Regions from separate parts of the Homo sapiens genome. Here regions 2, 3 and 4 are each linked to region 1. Evidence: promoter capture Hi-C in 16 types of primary human blood cells and fetal thymus (Javierre and others, 2016). All regions are on one chromosome and are shown on one strand. Each heading gives the region's core, a stretch centred on a gene start or on the middle of the fragment in contact. The rest is flanking DNA. Distances are from core to core; before and after follow the strand shown. Region 1 holds the start of CCDC68 (coiled-coil domain containing 68). Region 2 has its middle 100 kb from the start of DYNAP. Region 3 has its middle 37 kb from the start of DYNAP. Region 4 has its middle 85 kb from the start of DYNAP.

The links. Contacts are between HindIII fragments. The CHiCAGO score rates a contact against its expected background, and 5 or more counts as called.
Region 2: a fragment that was not itself captured here is called in contact with the fragment with the promoter of CCDC68 in region 1 in 2 of 17 cell types (megakaryocytes and erythroblasts); the score reaches 8.9 in megakaryocytes.
Region 3: a contact is called between a fragment that was not itself captured here and the fragment with the promoter of CCDC68 in region 1, in 4 of 17 cell types (erythroblasts, activated CD4 T cells, total CD4 T cells and 1 more). The highest score is 6.7, in erythroblasts.
Region 4: a fragment that was not itself captured here is called in contact with the fragment with the promoter of CCDC68 in region 1 in 7 of 17 cell types (megakaryocytes, erythroblasts, total CD4 T cells and 4 more); the score reaches 11.7 in megakaryocytes.

The regions. Positions count from the first base shown.
Region 1 is chr18:54,958,029-54,960,888 of GRCh38, forward strand. It overlaps CCDC68 (coiled-coil domain containing 68), which reads right to left and starts at 1,433. Exons shown (of 12, transcript NM_025214.3): 1 at 1,308-1,433. The HindIII fragment of the contact is 7,607 bases long and covers 1-2,860 here.
Region 2 is chr18:54,691,701-54,694,835 of GRCh38, forward strand. No RefSeq gene overlaps it. Among named protein-coding and RNA genes, the nearest start is that of DYNAP, 100 kb to the left of the region's middle. The HindIII fragment of the contact is 791 bases long and covers 1,107-1,897 here.
Region 3 is chr18:54,552,637-54,555,454 of GRCh38, forward strand. No RefSeq gene overlaps it. Among named protein-coding and RNA genes, the nearest start is that of DYNAP, 37 kb to the right of the region's middle. The HindIII fragment of the contact is 5,208 bases long and covers 1-2,818 here.
Region 4 is chr18:54,674,402-54,677,597 of GRCh38, forward strand. No RefSeq gene overlaps it. Among named protein-coding and RNA genes, the nearest start is that of DYNAP, 85 kb to the left of the region's middle. The HindIII fragment of the contact is 2,359 bases long and covers 255-2,613 here.

The DNA.
Region 1 (2,860 bases), core at 183-2,682:
GTAATTCACAAAATAGCAACAGTATTAATTTCAAAAGTCTCTTTCTAGTTAGGACAAGGGATCAATTTATTTTGTAAATAACAAGAGGAAAGAACCTTCTTATGACGTCGGCCTTATGACGTTGGCCTGGGTCCCAAGAAGTGTAGTTGTTTTCATTCTTTCTGCAAACATTTGAGGAACCACACGGGGATACTCCCTGCCTTGGGCAGAAATTCCTCTGTGTCAGGGGCCTTCCCTCTCAAATTGGGAGTGGGGTGGGGAAGAGAGTGGGCAGCGGGGGAAAAGCATAACAACAGCACCAATTGTGTCTGCCAGGGTACCTGACACTCCTGCCCAGCTCACATATCAGGAAAACCAGACTTCAGTAGCTCTGAATATTTAATGGCATTAGGTAAAATCAAAAGAACAGATTATCTCCTCCCTATCACAAACACAGAATAATTCCTTTTTGTATTCTGACACTTCATCCGAACTATATACACCAAGAAAGTAAAAGAGGTTTTGATTCCTAAAATAAAACAATCAGAATATAATGGGGAGCAGGTACACCTTCAGTTATGTTCAGGGCTTGTTGCTTGTTCTGATCCTTATATTCAATTTTGTCTTCACTTCCAAAAAGGCTGAAAATTCACAGCTATGTTATCATCCAATCTAAAAACTACACTTGCACGGTCCCGTACTAACCTTCAGTAAGATAAGAGTGTTCCTTTGTCTAGCCGCCTAGCACTCTGTAACTTCCACATCTAAAATATCATGATGCTACTCAACATTAAGGAAAAGGTCAAGCAATGGGCTGCTCTTTTTACTACACCTGCGGCTGCAGAAGCCCGCACAAATGAATGAAGACAGCCACCTTCATTCATCTCTGCTCTTTAAAAAATGCGAGCGCAGTGACCTGTCAAAGCCACCACGCTGGAGTTCCTAGGTCAGGGCGTTTACCGCAGGACTTTTCTCCATAGCCTCTGAAATTAGCAGGCAGAAATCGCGGGGACCCCTGACAAACGGATTGTATAACAACAACCTAAATAAATAATCAGGTGTGCGCCGGACTAAGTAGGGGTTCCTCTCTGCGGAAAAGCAGCTCTTCCCAATGGGGAAGAAACTTCTCGCCCAGGAAATTCGAGCCCAGAACCGAGGTTTCCAGGGAGGATTACCTCTTCAACAAGGACCCTTTTACAGGAAATGTCCTTGATGCCAGGAACTCCACTGGGGAAGCCGCTGGAAAGGCACCTGGACACCCACACACATGGAGGGGATGCGGGGGCGCGCCGCAGGGACCGGGCCCGAAGGTGGCCAGACTCGCCTACCTTGTGGGGCGCCCAGCCGACGCGGGGTCCCGGTGCTGCTCCTCCCCTGGGCGATCGGACCTTGGGGCCAGGGTCGGCTGCCAGGGCCCTGCGAGTGCAGCCGCCACCGCCCGCAGGCTTGGCTCCGCCCCGCGGGGCGCGCCCAGGGCAGAGTCCGGCGCCGGTGAGGCCCCGGGGAGGAGTCGCGGCAGGACGCGTACGCCCAGCGCTGGAGAGCCAGGCTCTGCCCCTCACGCCCCTCGCTAGGGTGCTGTACAGGCGGGTGGGGGGAGGGGATCGGCCGCTGCTTTTCAAGAAGGTTCTATTTGCACCCTAAGTTTATAAACTTTTGTTTTTGTTTTTTAAATAATTTTTGATTTTATTGTTTTTAGTATAAATTTATGGAGTACAAGTGCAATTTTGTTGTTTTTTTAAAAAACTTTCTTTTGGAACTTAAAAAAAGTTGCAAAGATAGTAGAGAGAGTCGTCTATATACCCCTCAGTCGGTGTCTCCTAATGCCTACAGCTTCCATAACTGTGGCACATTTGTCAAAACTAAGAAATTCACATTGGGCCAGGTGCGGTGGCTCACGCCTTGGTAATCTCAGCATTTTGAGAGGCCAAGGCAGGCGGGAGGATCGCTTGAGCTCAGGAGTTCGAGACCAGCCTGGGCAACATAGCGAGACCTCATTTCTACTAAAAATATTTTTTAAAAGACATTAACATTGATCTGCCACTATTAACACTACTCCAGACTTGATGTAGCTGTCACTAGCTTTTTGGCTAACGCCTTTCCCTTTCAGGATCCCAGCCAGGATACCACACTGCATTTAGCATCCTGTGCCCTTTGTCTCCTCTAATCCATGACAGTTTCTCTGTCTTTTCTTGACTTTGACAGCTGTAAAGAATTCTAGTAAAGTATTGTGATGAAGTATTCTGGTAAGGTATAGTTTTGTGGGGGTACCTCGACACCCACTCATGTGGGTATTGTCTACTGTTTTTTTCTCATGATGAGACTGGGGGGAGGAAAGACTCAGAGATGAAGTGCCTTCCCCACTGCATCCTCTCAGGGACGATGGCACGATGGCCAGGTGACTTATCACTGGTGACTTGACCTTGATCCCATAGTTAAGGTTGTGTCTGCCAGGTTTCTCTACTGCAAAGCTGTTTTTCTCTTTCCATACACTCTACTCTGAATGGCATGAATGGCATGACTCAATTCAGCTGACACTCAAGATGAGGGCAAGATTAAACTCCATCCCAGAGCAGGGAGTATCTATATGTTATTATTTAGAATGATTCTGTAAGGAAGATTTGTTCCATCTCTCTTGTTTATTCAATCATTTATGTCAGTATTTGTTATGTCAGTATGGACCCATGTATATTTATTTTATACTTTGGGCTAGAATTCAATACTACATTATTAATTTTGTTGCTCAAATGGTTCCAGCTTTGACCACTGGGAACTCTTTCAGGTTGGCTCCTGTGTCTCTCTGAAAGTTCATAAACTTTTAGGATTGTGGGGAAAAAAAAAAGGTGTATTTCCTCCGCCCCCCCTCAACATCTAACAGATT
Region 2 (3,135 bases), core at 252-2,751, 270 kb before region 1:
AAAAGACCTTAGATGCCAGATTGTGACATTTAAAGTTTTAGCTCCCCAATAATGGGGAGCCACTGATGGTTAATGAGCAAAAGGAAACAACACAAAAAATGGGTACATTAAGAGGAAGTTGAAAATACATAGGGTAGATTGGAGGTTTAGGAGACTAAAGGAAAGAATAGTTAGGAGCTATTTCAATAGCAAATAAGTGGAAAAGTGTTTTTTTTTTAAAAAAGGAAGATAAATACAAGAAATATTATACATAGGAAATCAAGCAACTCAATATAATTTCTTTCCAAACCCTTAGGAGAATAATGTAACCCACTTTCTTCATTAAGACACTAAACATATTTAATCTTTTAACACTTTACAATCATAATTTAATACATTGAGTAGTAAAAAGAATTATTAAAAAAACTGACATAGAATGAATCAATTTTCCTAGTTTATTTCAGTGATTTTTAAGTACTGTTTATAGTCTTCACATTTTATTTAGTCAAAATAAAAACAGAACCAGATGATTATGTTCCCTATAGCTGAAGGCTTGGCAAATTGTCATACCGACAGGGTTGGTTTTCATATGGCTTAGATGTTTTTGAAGGATGGATAGGGTAAAATTTTACAATCTCTTTGAGCTCTATAAATCTGTGAAACTCTAAACAAAAATATCACGAAGTATTAGGAAGAAAAGAACGAAGAGAACAAGAAAAAAAACAACCTTGATTTCATTCAGTAAAGTTCATCTTTAGCATATTCCTTTTGCTAATGCAAGAAAATGAGGAAAAGGAAATTTATTTTTTAAAGAGAGAAAATAAAGAGCATTTAAAGTAAGATAGAGAATGAGCTTTCCAGTTTGTGCTGGCTAAATCCAATAACCATTTTCAATTTAACACTGAAGGCAGATTGTATCTTTTAAGTCCTGTTTTTGTATTCTGTACAGTGATGGGCATGTCTCTTTCTTTAGTTGTCAGGATAATGAATGCTAATCTGAAGATACTCTAAGCTATTATTTTTCCAATGCATTCACCTATGCCTTCTGTGTATGCCTATTCACTGTAGTTATCAGTCTTATAGTCAAGTGATGATGGATTTCATTTATAAATGTTGAAGTGGAATTAAGCTTTATAATGTTAGCTGGGAGTGATAAATCTCCTCCTGGTAATATCATGTCGTAAGAAAGCACTGACTTTCCTGATGAAATTTTATAGATGGTTAATGTTCTCATTTTCTGGTGTTTTTACCATTTTACTACATCTGACATTTTACTAATCTTTTATATTTGTATTGCTTTTCAAAGATTAGATAAGACAAAACATCATAGAACATCTTTGTCACCTTGGAGTCGACAGGTTTCTTAATCAGGGCACCAAAAGCATTAAGCATGAAAGAAAAAAAGATAAATGAATTACATTAAAATAAAAAAACTTCTCCAAACAATATCTTTAAAAAGTTAGGAAAAGCAACCCAAAAAATGAAAGCAGATTTTTATATATATATATATATGTTGATATGTTTATATATTGCTTATAATATATAGGTATATATAATATATAATATATATGTGTATGTATATATATATTTGAAAAAATATAAATAAAAACAAAAAACCCTGATAGAAACATGGACAAAAGACTTGAACAGATACTCCATAAAAGAGGATATTTAAATGTCCTTTAAATCTGTAAAAAGGTGCTCAACTTTATTAGTTATTTTTTTTAAATGCAAGCTAAACCACAGGATGCCATCAAGTAACCACCAAAACGGGCAAAGGAAAAAGGCAGATAATACCGAGTGTCAGCAAGAATGTAGAGTAAACTGAACTCCATCCACCACAAGTAGAAGTGGAAATTGACAAAAACCACTTTTGAAACATGCTTGGCAACATCTTTCTCAAGAAGAATACATGAAAAGCTTGTAGCCAGTAGGTCCACTTCTGGGTGTTTCCCTAGCAGAAACGTATACCTATGTTCACTCACCAAAAGACGTAGAAGAGTGATCAGTGCAGCTCTACCCAAATGACCATCAACAATAGAGTGGACAATACATTCTGGTATGCACATCTAGTAGAAAGCAATGAGACTGAAAAATCTGAAACTGCAATAATAGTGACTCAAAATCATAATATTGAGCAAAGGAGCCAGGTACAAAAAAATTACAGTATATGATTCCTTTTATATAAAATAACAACATAGGCAAAAATAATATTAGTTGTAGGTGTCAGGATAATGATTACCTCCCGTAGTGGGGAGGGGTGGAGAGTGTTTCTCTTTGGAAGGAAACAGGAGAAACCTTCTGGAGTGTCACTAGGGTGCCACAAATAAAGTATGAGAGTGAGTATCCCCATTCTCTTGTTACTTAAAAACATAATTAATCTCACTCTCTTGTTACTTAAAAATGTAATTAATCTTTTGAATTTTGGACAGTGTGATACACAAAACATGATTTTAGTTCATTTCAGTTAGAATGGCCCAGATTTATAATGAGGTTGAGCATCTTTTAATTTATCTTATTACCTCCTCTTTTGAAAATTTGCTGTTCATGTAATTTGACCATTTTTCTATTAGGTGACCTGTTTTTACTTTCTTTAATTTGATACTGTTCTGTATTAATTATGGAGGTCAATCTTTGCTCTGATTTATAGTTTTCATTTAAATTTGTATGTATTTAAAATTTTTATTTATCAATCTTACAGTTTCTGTGTTTAGTGTATTGCTTAGAAAAACTCTTTAGATTATAAAGATAATCCATTATAGTTTCTTTGTATTCATTTCTAGGTTTTTATTTACTTAATCTATTTGGATTTATTTTTGTGCCTGGTATGACATAGATATCTGATATCTTTTCCCTAAATGGATAGCCAATTGTACCCACACTATTCCTTAGTCTGTCATTTTTCTACTGATTTTAAATTCTACCTTTGTCATAAATAATATTTCCATATTATGTTTTCATATATATCTTTCTTTTCATGCTGAGTTGTTCCACTGTGAAATTTGTAGATTATGCATCAATGCCACACTTTTACAAGTTATTCTAGTTTTATGGTGTGGTTTGATATTTAATAGAGAATTAGCAAGGGAAAGCTAATTATTCTTTTCCAAATCAGCTTTTAATTCTCATAAAAATACTTTTGGTAATGTCATATTC
Region 3 (2,818 bases), core at 305-2,804, 410 kb before region 1:
TCTTTAACTTTAAGACAATTTGGTACTTTGTGGCCAAATCGCAAAACAAAATACATGTACATGTGTACATGTATGTACACATTAAACACACACATACATGCTCATACAAACTAAGATCCTATAGCTTTTACTTTAGAGCTCTAGGCATGGGATACTAATACAAACTCACTGGTTTACAAAAACAATAACAAAAATTAAAAGTTGCATTCAAATAGTGGGTTTTATCTCAGTAGAACAGTAACAGCGGATTTAAAGCAGGCAGAAAAGAAAATAAAGAAATAGACAACTTAGGAACTCTTTAGTTGCAGGTCAACCCCTGGGCTCTGAATTTTTCCTTGATGTAATTTGTCCATCAGTTTAAAATGTGCACAAAATGACCATAATATGCAACCAGCTGGAGTACTACAGAACCTGGCATGCCCTCAACCTTTTCCATTTTACACAAATACTTGCAAGTAGAAGCTCCATAAAACCAATGAGGTGCCCAAAAGGGGGTCCTTCTCCTTGTCTTTCCTCATTCTGAGATGGTATGTTTCCCACATTTTTTTCTTACAAGGAGAAACTGAGCTGTAGCCTAGGGTTTAGTGTAGTGGAGAGAAGTGTGCTGATTGAGTAGAACTCCACAGTGTGTCACTATTGTGTCATTTCTTCCCTCTTTCTCTCTCCGAAGGGCTAGCACCTTTAAGAGGTTCTAAGTATAGAGTGACCAGCTCTTATATGTGCTTCCTGGACAAGCCTTTTTAATTTTGGTGGAGTTTCCCTGTAGGGCCACTGCACTTTGCAGGGAGGTCAGCTCCCTGGACAATCCCACTCGGGCCCACTTGGTCACCCAGGGGCACCTTTTGGCTGGGAGGAGCAAAAGCCCCTTTCTCTTTAGAGCTGAGGAACTCAGTTTCTCATGTATCTACAAGAATGACAGTTCAGTTCCTCACACAAATGTACAGACATACCAATCGAGATTAATTTTGAGAGACAAGGCAATGGAGAAGACCCTTTAGAATGCACCACCAAACTCGACTTAGGATTTTCAACAACAATTTCTTAGGAGGGAAAAAACCCAGCTAAGACCACTTTCTATAAACTGTCCTCAGCCACCCCTAATGTTGTAGTTCTTGTCCTCCTTTACACACACCAAGGTCAAATCTTCTCACAATACGAGGTAGCCTCTGATACCCCCACAAAGCCAAAGAGGTCAGTTAATGCAATACAAGAAAGCAGGGCTGTAGACCTAAGAAGAATCTGCCCATGACTCTTGAAACTCCACAAAGAAAACTGAACATGCCCCAAAGGGGTGAGCGGCACCTTTATTCTGAGTTCTCCTTTTTTTTTTTGATATGGAGTCTCACTCATTTGCCCAGGCTAGAGTGCAGTGGTGCTATCTCGGCTCACTGCAAGCTGTGCCTCCTGGGTTCGCGCTGTTCTCCTGCCTCAGCTTCCCGTTTAGCTGGGAATACAGGTACCCGCCACCATGCCTGGCTAATTTTTTGTATTTTTAGTAGAGATGGGGTTTCACTGTGTTAGCCAGGACGGTCTCAATCTCCTGACCTTGTGATCCACCTGCCTCGGCCTCCCAAAGTGTTGGGATTACAGGCGTGAGCCACCACGCCCAGCCTATTCTGAGTTCTTTAAGGAACCTGAGTCATTAGAAGCCTTATCTAGATTTTTTTTTTCACTTGATACTGAAGATGGCCAAGAGTGAAGGAGGAATAGGGCAGAAGAAAAGTAAATGAAAGAACAATTTTTTTTCAAGAAAGGAAGTGAACAGAGAAACCAACTGGATGTTTTTATTTTTCAGTTGCAAGGAATTTTAGCCAATTCAAAGGCCTTGTTCTCCATAATTTGGAATTCCTAATCAGATTTGACCAAGTTGGGTAGAGCCAGTCAAATCCAAAGGAAGACCAGAACAACAGCAAGCAAAACAAAAAAACAAACAATGATTACTTAGTGCTCTAATGTTAAGGAGAAATTAAGAGCAGTTGGTTGTCAATTTTAACTTTTAGTTATTTAGGAGAATTTTCAAGACAAAATCCCAATTCAGCTACTTACCCAGGAATGGGGCCCAGGTTCAAGACTGCTATCTACCATCCTAGCAGCAGGGGGGAAAAAAACCCTCAAATTCACCTTCCCTATTGGAAGTGAGCTGAAACTCCAGAAAGCAGTTGCCTCCTCTCTATTGCCATGGAAGCAGGAACAAGCGCCTTCCTTGTTGGAAGTGAGTAAAACTCCAGAAAAGGAGCTGTACAGCTAAATAAACTTTAAATCTCAACCAGATTTTGGGAGATTGGGGATTCTATGGAGAAGGGAGCTCCCAGGCTCCAGAAAATTGTCCTGTTGTTTTGAGCAATAAAGATAGCTCAAGCTGGTGCCAGGCACTGACAGGAAATTTGTCAAAGGTCAGGAGCACCTCTGCTCAGAATCCCTTTGAGGTTGCCAATTTGTAAACCAAAAGTATCTGAGACAGGTCTCAATCAGTTTAGAAAGTTTATTTTGCCAAGATTAAGGATGAGCTTGTGACACAGCCTCAGGAGGTCGTGATGACATGTGCCCAAGGTGATGAGGGTAGAGCTTGGTTTTATACATTTTAGAGAGACATGAGACATCCATAAACATATGTAAGATGTATATTGGTTTGGTCCAGAAGGGCTGGACAACTCAAAGCAGGGGCTTCCAGATCACAGGTAGATTGAAGGATTTTCTGATTGGCAATTTGTTGAAAGAATTATTATGAATAACAAGGTCTGGGGCCTGTAAATCCCAGCTACTCAAGAGGCTGAGGCAGAAGAATCCTTGCACCCAGGAGCAGAGGTGGCAGTGAGCC
Region 4 (3,196 bases), core at 184-2,683, 280 kb before region 1:
GCATAGTGTTTAAGTCTGATTAAAAAACTTGGGCTCTGAATTCATAGATATTTGGGTTTGAATCTTTGCTCAGACACTTGCAGGTTATGTGACTTTGGACATGTTGCCTGACTTTGTCTCACCTGTAAAATGGGGATAAAGAGAGAATGTAGCCCTCAGAGTAGCTGTGGGAATTAATGAGAATTAAGCATCTAGCACAGAATAATTGCCCAATAAATATTAACTTTTATTATCTTCTCTCTAATTAACCTATAAGCTTTTTTTTTAAGAGCAAAACACATGTTTTATTCAACAGTGTACTAGTCTAGTAGCCCATGGCATAGTGTCTTACACAAAGTAAGCACTCAAAAGTAATTTTGAATGGATAAGAGAATGGCGAGGCCTCGAGATTATGAAACATGAAAAGGAGACAGGAAGAGAAGCTCATGAAGGAGCCTGTATTAGTCCATTCTCTCATTGCTGAAAGGAACTACCTGAGTCTGGGTAATTTATGAATCACTTGAACCCGGGAGGCAGAGGTTGCAGTGAACCAAGATTGTGCCATTGCAATCCAGCCTGGGTGAAAGAGTGAAACTCTGTCTCAAAAAAAAAAAGAAAAAAAAGAAAAGAAAAATAACTTGTCCAAGGTCACATTGTTATTAACAAGCAGAATTGAGCTTTGAGTGAAGTACTTGTTCTATGACACTCTCCATCCAACTAAACTTTGCCTTCCATATTTGTTGGCTTATTTTGTCCTGGGAAGGACTGTGTTTCTAGAGCACAGACTTTTCTCACCTTGTCTGAGTCCTTAACATCAGCCTAAGGGATGCTGTGTCACACAAGGCCTAACATGGTCAGTCAGATTACTCAAGGTCTAATTTGGACGGCTGCATGCTTAATCTATTCAATCCTGTGCTTAATAGGCCATTAAAAGGGCTGACAACACAGTCCCCAGAATGCCTTGGAAGATTCATTAGTCACACACAGGGGCTGCTTTTGTGCTTCACACAAACAAGGCCATCTGAGAAAGCAAAAGAGGATAACATTTTAAATCCTCTATTCCTACACTTCATTTTTTTGTTTGCTTTTACCTTTTGCTGATTTTCCCTTCGGACATAGGGAACTTTTTTCACATTCTTTAGATCCTAGGCTCTGCCCCAAATTTATCTCTGCCAGAATTCACCTAGGTATACATTCAAGGAAAGAACTAAAGTGAAATATGATGAGCAGTTTCTAAGTACTTTAACTGATATGGTGTATAACAAGTATTTTGAGAGAGATCTAAATTTAAAAAAATACACCTAGCATATTATGTTATGCTACTTCATTAAAAATTAGAGACAAAATTGAATTCCTATTTATACACGCATACTGTATCTCTCATACCAAAACTAAGACTTATAAAGATAAATATTAGTAAATGTTAATCCATGAAAGTCTTTCCATTTTCACATGGAAAAGACACAATAAACCAAAGTCAACAACAAACCGGGAAAAAAATATTTTCAACACATAGAAAAAAATTTTAAATATTGCTTACATATAATGAGTACTTACAAATTAATAAGATTTTTATAGGCACACACTAAGAAAGAGTAACAAAGGACATTGATGTGCTTGTCACAGAAGAAGTCTATGTAATGAATAAAAACAGAGGGTAAGATACTTGACCTCATAGTTAAATATATAGAAATTGAAATAAAAGTGATATATTTTTATTACTAGGTTTAGACAAATTTTCTGAAAATTAATGACTTTTTAAGAAGACATAACTATTTGGTATTTGTGACCCCACTAGAAAAGGAACATGCCTGTAAGAACACTTCCTGAAATATACACTAAAAAGTAAAGTATCAGCAGACTCTGCTACTAGCTTTGCTCATTGGATGTGGAGACATGAGCTCTCTTTCCCGCTATGTTTCTCCACCTTCCAGCTATTCCTAGAGAGTTGGCCATGAGCCTCAGTGGACACATGACCTAGGTCCTCAGGGGTTCCCAAAGGAAATTTGAGTTTTGAGGCATTTGAAAGAGGAAGAAATATCTCTTCCTCTGAATTTTTTTCCAAAGGAGATAAGTAGATATTTTAACAAAGGCATTTCAGTCAATGAAAGGTGGTGATTATGAGAGAGGTTCCAATGACAGTTCTGCCACTTATTATCTGAGTTACTCTGGGAAAGGGCCTTATTTCCTCTAAGTGTCAAATGTCCAAATGTTTTTTATACATTCTGAAAAAGTAGAGCAATCAAGAGTAATAAACCAGGTAATAAAACATACTATCAAGAACTAATAATTAAAACAGTGTGGTACTGGCAGACAGAGACCCATGCGAAAGCATATACAATCTAGAAAGAGATTCCCTCCCCTCAATATAAGAGTTCAGTAATAAAGATGGGATCTTATACCAATAAGCAAAATGTGAACTATACTTAATAAACAGCATCTCTATTTAACAGCAATCTGGGGAGGGGGGAAGCTGCATCCATACCTTATACCTTACACCAGGATAGGAGAGTTTAATTTTCTGAGTTGCCCAAAAGAAAAGATCCATAGTTACAGACACTAGGGGTTTTCTTTCTGATCATCTAATGGTAAAATCCACAGTCAACAGCCTCACCCTCTAAGCAATGTACAGAAAGCTTTTTTTTTTTTTTTTTGAGACAAAGTCTTGCTCTGTCTCCCAGGCTGGAGTGCAGTGGTCCATCTTGGCTGACTGAAACCTGCAACCTGCACCTCCCAGGTTCAAGTGATTCTCCTGCCTCACCCTCCCAAGTAACTGGGACTACTGGCATGCACCACATGCCCAACTAATTTTTTGTATTTTTAGTAGAGACAGAGTTTCACTATGTTGGCCATGCTGGTCTCAAACTCCTGACCTCAAGTGATCCACCCACCTTGGTATCCCAAAGTGCTGGGATTACAGGCATGAGCCACCGTACCTGGCCTCATACATTCTTTTAATCAAAAAATATAGGCCTGGTGTGGTGGCTCATGTCTGTAATCCCAGCACTCTGGGAGGCAGAGGCAGGCAGATCATGAGGTCAGGAGTTCGAGACCAGCCTGGCCGACATGGTGAAACCTCGACTATACTAAAAATACAAAAATTAGCCAGGCATGGTGGCACGTACCTGTAACCCCAGCTACTCGGTGGGCTGAGACAGGAGAATTGCTTGAACCTGGGAGGCGGAGGTCACAGTGAGCCAAGATTGCGCCACTGCAC